Linked DNA regions of Homo sapiens: region 1 is linked to region 2. The links are contacts of gene promoters, found by promoter capture Hi-C in blood cells and fetal thymus (Javierre and others, 2016). All regions are on one chromosome and are shown on one strand. Each heading gives the region's core, a stretch centred on a gene start or on the middle of the fragment in contact. The rest is flanking DNA. Distances are from core to core; before and after follow the strand shown.

Region 1 (2,901 bases), core at 342-2,841, 1.4 Mb before region 2:
TAAAAAAAAAACCTCAAATTATCTTTTCTTTTTCTCAAACTTTATTATAAAAATTACTAATGGTTGTTTAAAGTGGAAAAGTGAGAGTTCTCTTGTTGAGTCATTAGAAATGCTCAGATATGAATTTTCATTGTGAAATGAATTTATACAAATTAAAATTAAATATTATTTTGGCAAATATAAAAAATTTCACACCAAAAGAATTTCCAGTATTTTTAAGTTGTATATGAATAGAAAAGAGTTTCTGTAACTTTCAGCCAAAACTCATTATTTCATATATAAACTCCTAGTAGATATTTCCTAATGCAGTTTTAACATATTTTCTAATATCTTGCCATTTAGAAGAAGATCTACTAATTTATTTGGCTCTCAAGAAATGGAGTAGAGGATATAAACGGCGTAAGAATTAACTGAGATCTCTGCCCCATGCCCACTGCAATCCCCACAAGGTCTCCACACACAAAATTTGATTCATGATACATATGGAGAACTACTATTTTAGTTATAATTGATCCCTGTCACTATCTTCTCTGGGGAAACAACTAATAAGGCAATACTAACTTGAATAAAAGTGAGACCCTAGCCTGGACGTTGTGGCTCACGCCTGTAATCCCAGCACTTTGGGAGGCCGAGGCAGGCGGATCATGAGGTCAGGAGATTGAGACCATACTGGCTAACACAGTGAAACCCCGTCTCTACTAAAAATACAGAAAAATTAGCCGGGCTTGGCAGCGTGCACCTGTGGTCCCAGCTGCTGGGGAGGCTGAGGCAGGAGAATGGCGTGAACCCGGGAGGCAGAGCTTGCACTGAGCCGAGATAGTGCCACTGCACTCCAGCCTGGGTGACAGAGCAAGACTCTGTCTCAAAAAAAAAAAAAAAAAAAAGTGAGACCCTGGAGGAATAAATACAGCCTAACCACAGAGCCCACAATGAGCAATCCTAGTAAACAACAAGGAATTTTATAGTGTGTTCAGTACTAATAGGAGAGAGAGCCTAGATTTTATACCCTATTAGTTTTTCAGAGATCTGTAAATCAGAGAACCTATGAAATCAATCTTTACAGATTAGGACTTTGTATAGTAAAGTTGATTATAGTTCTGAATCATCAAAACAATAATCTTGGGGGCTTTAAGAAATTATTTCTTAAAAGGGGGAAAAACTCTTAGACTTTTACAGAGAAACTTTCACACCACACAAAAATCTCAGAGAACAGTAAACCACAATAAGAATCTTAACTCTGATGGTAACTGAAAACAAACACTACATTGTTAGTGAACAAGGAGGAAAAAGGAATTTTACATATTACAAAAGAATCTATAAATTTAAACAAAGAACCTAAGCAAAACTACTCCTGAAATAATGTTAAATTTTTGAATACTCTGAATATTGAACACTTTTGAATACTGTTAAACCCATGCAAAAATCAACCAAAGCTTTATGCAATGTACCTAGAAGGGCACTAAGTGTTGTAAGTTACAGTTTGGTGATGACTAAGACAAAAAATAAAAGGGGTGTCAATATGACAACAAAGACATCTCATACTAGTGAAGTAGCTACAGATCCCCCATGTTTAAAATGACAGGTCTTTTCATTTTTGAACACTAAGTTACTTTTTTCTCACAGTGTAAATGGACTGGCAATGATCAAGCCAAAAATCCAACAGGTGCCCCTTTAACCAACTGCATGCACTTGTAAAACAGCTGCTCATGGAATGGAATGACTCACTGGCCAACAAAGAAATCAAGCTTCAGCATCATGCTGTTATCAACTCACCAAGAACCTATCACTCAAAGGAAGCAACAATTTAAATTTTGGCAAAGCCCAAAAAGCCTAAAAATATATATATATGGAAGATAATCCCACTGGGGATACGTATTTCTACCCATTCCTCTCTGGTGCTTGAGTGCACACGTTCTCTCTCTCTCCACACATACGGAAAGGATATATATATATTTTATATACATATATAATTAATATTAGATAAAAGAAGTTGGTAACAACCCAATTAAAAAATGGGCAAGGGATATTAATAGACATTTCTCTAAAGAAGATCTACAAATGGGCTAGGCGCAGTGGCTCAGGCCTGTAATCCCAGCACTTTGGGAGGCCGAGGTGGGCAGATCACCTGAGGTCAGGAGTTCAAGACCAGCCTGGCCAACATGGTGAAATCCCATTTCTGCTAAAAATACAAAAAAATTAATCGGGCATGGTGGTGGATGCCTGTAATCACAGCTACTGGGGAGGCTGAGGCGGGCAGATCACCTGAGGTCAGGAGTTCAAGACCAGCCTGGCCAACATGGTGAAACCCCATCTCTGCTAAAAATACAAAAAAATTAATCGGGCATGGTGGTGGATGCCTGTAATCCCATCTACTAGGGAGGCTGAGGCAGGAGAATCACTTGAACCCAGGAGGTGGAGGTTGCAGTGAGCTGAGGTTGCGCCATTGCACTCAAGCCTGGGAGACAAGAGCAAAACTCCATCTCAAAAAAAAAAAAAAAAAAAAAAAGAAATCTACAAGTGGCCAAAAAGTGCATTAAAAGATGATACTCAATATCATTATTCATTAGGAAAATACAAACCAAAACCACAATTAGAAACCACTTAATACCCACAAGGATGAGTATTAAAAAAACAAAAAAACAAAACAAACAAACAAAAAAAACAGAAAACACAACTGTTAATGAGGTTATGGGAAAATTGGAATGTCCTATACATTGCTGATGGGAAGGTAAAATGGTACAGTCACTATGGAAACAGTTTGGCAGTTCCTCAAAAAGTTGAAATATAACTACCATATGACCTTGCTCAGTTCTACTACTAGGTATATACCCAAGAGAAATGAAAACAGGTACTCAAATACATCCATACAAATGTTCACAGCAGCACTATTCACAATAGCCA
Region 2 (2,983 bases), core at 92-2,591:
ATTTAAAACAAGTGAAACAAAGACTAGGCAGCTTCCTAGGGACTCGCAGGGGTTATCTTTTGTGTCTATAGCATTCTCTTGCTCAGGGCAGTTACATGTTATTAGTGAAAGTTGTGACAGTAGGGGAGGCAGCTAACTCTTCAGGTTAAAAGGGGTTTTCTATGCCCAGTACTCAAAATCTAACAAACCCATTCCACGTGATACTGCTGTCACCCTATTACAACCTGTGACATGCATTTATTCGTCACTGTCCTAAACACTGTTGGTCAGTTGGTTTGTTGTTTGGTTTAAAGACAACAGCCCCTGAGCTCTATTAAATGGAACAAGTTCGAGAGACATTCCTAAATGTCCAGACAACTCCACAGCGCGCATTTCTCTCCAGCAGCGGGAAGATTCAGAGACCTCGAGACTGAACACCCAAATCTCGCTTTCCAGGACCCGAAGTACCGAACAATAGGTCCCAAGGTAACTGTCCCACTTCCCTTTAGGTTGGATACGTTAAACAATACCAGGGCACAGTCTAACGTTTCACCAATTTCCAAAGCTAAATTACTGACTAAACGCCCAATATCCAAGCCTGTGCGCAAAAAATAACAAGTGGCCCAAGCAGCCGCGCAGCCCCTTGCGCGGTGGGGGCCGAGGGGTCCCCTCGCCCGTCCCCCACGCGCGCGAAAGGGCGAGCACTAGTGGCGGAGGAGGGGAGAACCCATATTGTAGGCTTGAGAGAATCTACAAATGAACCCCCAGATCCTGAGGAAGAGGGGTCTCTTTCCTTTACGTCCTTGCCCTCCCCCGGGTCCCTAGCACTGTGCCCTCGATCCCCGCCTACAACGCACCCCACGCCAGCCCCGCTGGCAGCTGCATGGCTGGTGCCAGGAACGCGGCGGGGGCGCAGGCCGAGGGGAGCGGGCGCTGGGGGGGCCGGGGGCAGCGCGCTACTCACCAATGCGACTGAAACTCTCCGACAAAGTTCTCCGCAACTTCTTCATCTTGCCGATCTTCTCGGCCGGCTGCGGCTCAATGAGGTCACACATCTGGGCGACGCGGAGCCCCGACAACTTCCCCAAACTGGTCCAGGCACAGCTCAGACAACGGCGAGGGCGCGCGCCGCGGGGAAAGCGGCGCCTCCTCCTCCACCACCTCCTCGGCGGGCCGGGAAGCGACGCGCAGGTCTAGGGAGGCGAGCAGCAGGCAGGCGGAGGACGGCAGGCTCCGCTCCGGCCTGGGCCGCAGCTGGGCGGGCGGGGGCGGTTTACGTGGTGCCGGGGGCGGCCGCGCTCGCCGCCGCCGTGGTGGCCCCGCGCCGCGCCGCCGCCGCCCGGCTCATTTTCCCTCCTTTGTAACGGAGAGAAGCGCGGCCGGCAGGGGGAGTGGTGCGGCCGAAGGAGGAGGCGGGGCGGGCCGGGTACAAGGTGCGGGAGTCGCCTGGCGCCGAGTGCGCGGGGCGAGGGCGAGTGGGCCGGCGGGAGAAGTTCTCAGCCCAGAGTTGCGGGCGCAGCGCAGAAGGAGCCGCGGCGCGGAACCGCCAGCCTGACAGCTCCTGCTGCCCTCCTGCTGCCGCCGCCACGCCCCTCCCTCGACGAAGGCCCCTGGGCGCGGGATCCTAGCACGACCTCGGCTCCCCGCTCGCCTCCCGCGTCCTCCGCGGCCCTCTGTGTCTGGCTCGCGCCCCGGCGGCGCCCCCTCCCGGCCGCGCCCCTCCCGGCCGCCCCCGCGCTCCTCCCCCGCCCCGCCCGCGCGCGGGAGGATCACGAAGGGACCGGGGTGGGAGCGGGCAGCGTCTGGGGACAGCGTGTTGGGCTGTGGGGAGGTTACCGAAAGGAAACGGGCCGAGTCCAGTTGTTTGAGCGGTTTTCTCCTTCCACGAGCGTGTGTGAAAAAGCGCGGAGTTCGGTGGAGGGCAGCTGCCAGGACTGCCTCCTGGACTGGGTGCGGTAAGGCCTTAGGGATGCATTCAGATGTAGGGTGCCTTATTTTGGGCCGAGAAAGCTGTCAAGTGAAAGATCCAAGGGGAAAGGTGGGCCTGGATTTTTTTGTTGTTGTTTGCGGTGGGTTTTTTGTTTGTTTTGAGGTCAAGTGCAGAAGCAGCGGAAGCTTCAACTGTAACCCTCCAGAAGGCAGGGATCATGCTGTTTCCCTCATCCTTGTCTCTGATCTTGGTGACACATGTAGGTGATTTCTGATAGGAATACCCAGTTCTGCAGTAAATAGCAGACACAGCCCTTGGTCTTTTTCTATTAAATTCTTAGAATATATTTCTGAATTGGGAGATTTAAAGGCTAAACAGATTCCGACCTCCTTTTCCCCCACCTCAAAAACAGAACTTTAAAAAGGAGTGGGGGAGGTGTTTATAAAATCCCAGGACAAACAGTTCCAGCAGCGAACACACATCGTCTTCATTCTGAAAAAACCTGGTGCGGCGTGAGTTCCAAACGTCAGTCTCCCAGGGGAGAGAGAAGGAAGGTGGGGGAGGGCTTGATTGTGTTGATCTGAGGCCAGCAAACTCCTTATGAATAGAAACGTTAGTAATCTTGAGTCATTTGGCTGTGTAAGTAATAAGAGCTTGTGAGGGTGTGACAATGCTGTTTGGCTTGTAGGAAATTTTGGGGAGTTTATGTTTTGTTAAAAGATTTTTATCTTAAAAACTAGCCCCCTGCCTTCCTTAAATTGTGAGGTAAAACAGTGATTTGTTCCGCCCTACACTGAGCACATTGTAGGATCTTGATAGATTGCGGATGATAAAAGACAGGAAGTCAAGCTAAGTGGGGAGCAGAGGGGGGCAAGGAATTCGCCAGGAAAGACCATATGAGTTAAAACGCAAAGCTGTTGGATCCTGGCTGCCATGTCTAGATAATTACAGACAGCACCAAGGGTGGCCTCATACCGGAAAAAAGTTTGACTTTTACCACTTCCTCAGGTTAGTTAGGGAGAAAGTTTTCAGCAGTTATGAATGAAAAGACAAATGCAACCAATCAAAACACTA

The links. Contacts are between HindIII fragments. The CHiCAGO score rates a contact against its expected background, and 5 or more counts as called.
Region 1: a fragment that was not itself captured here is called in contact with the fragment with the promoter of CDK14 in region 2 in 1 of 17 cell types (total B cells); the score reaches 5.2 in total B cells.

The regions. Positions count from the first base shown.
Region 1 is chr7:91,948,211-91,951,111 of GRCh38, reverse strand. All of the region lies in intron 1 of AKAP9 (A-kinase anchoring protein 9), which reads right to left. Among named protein-coding and RNA genes, the nearest start is that of AKAP9, 8.8 kb to the right of the region's middle. The HindIII fragment of the contact is 312 bases long and covers 1,436-1,747 here.
Region 2 is chr7:90,594,679-90,597,661 of GRCh38, reverse strand. It overlaps CDK14 (cyclin dependent kinase 14), which reads right to left and starts at 1,341. Exons shown (of 15, transcript NM_001287135.2): 1 at 944-1,341. The coding sequence starts at 1,034. RefSeq lists silencers at 704-753, 814-1,013, 1,204-1,513, 1,534-1,733. The HindIII fragment of the contact is 4,165 bases long and covers 1-2,096 here.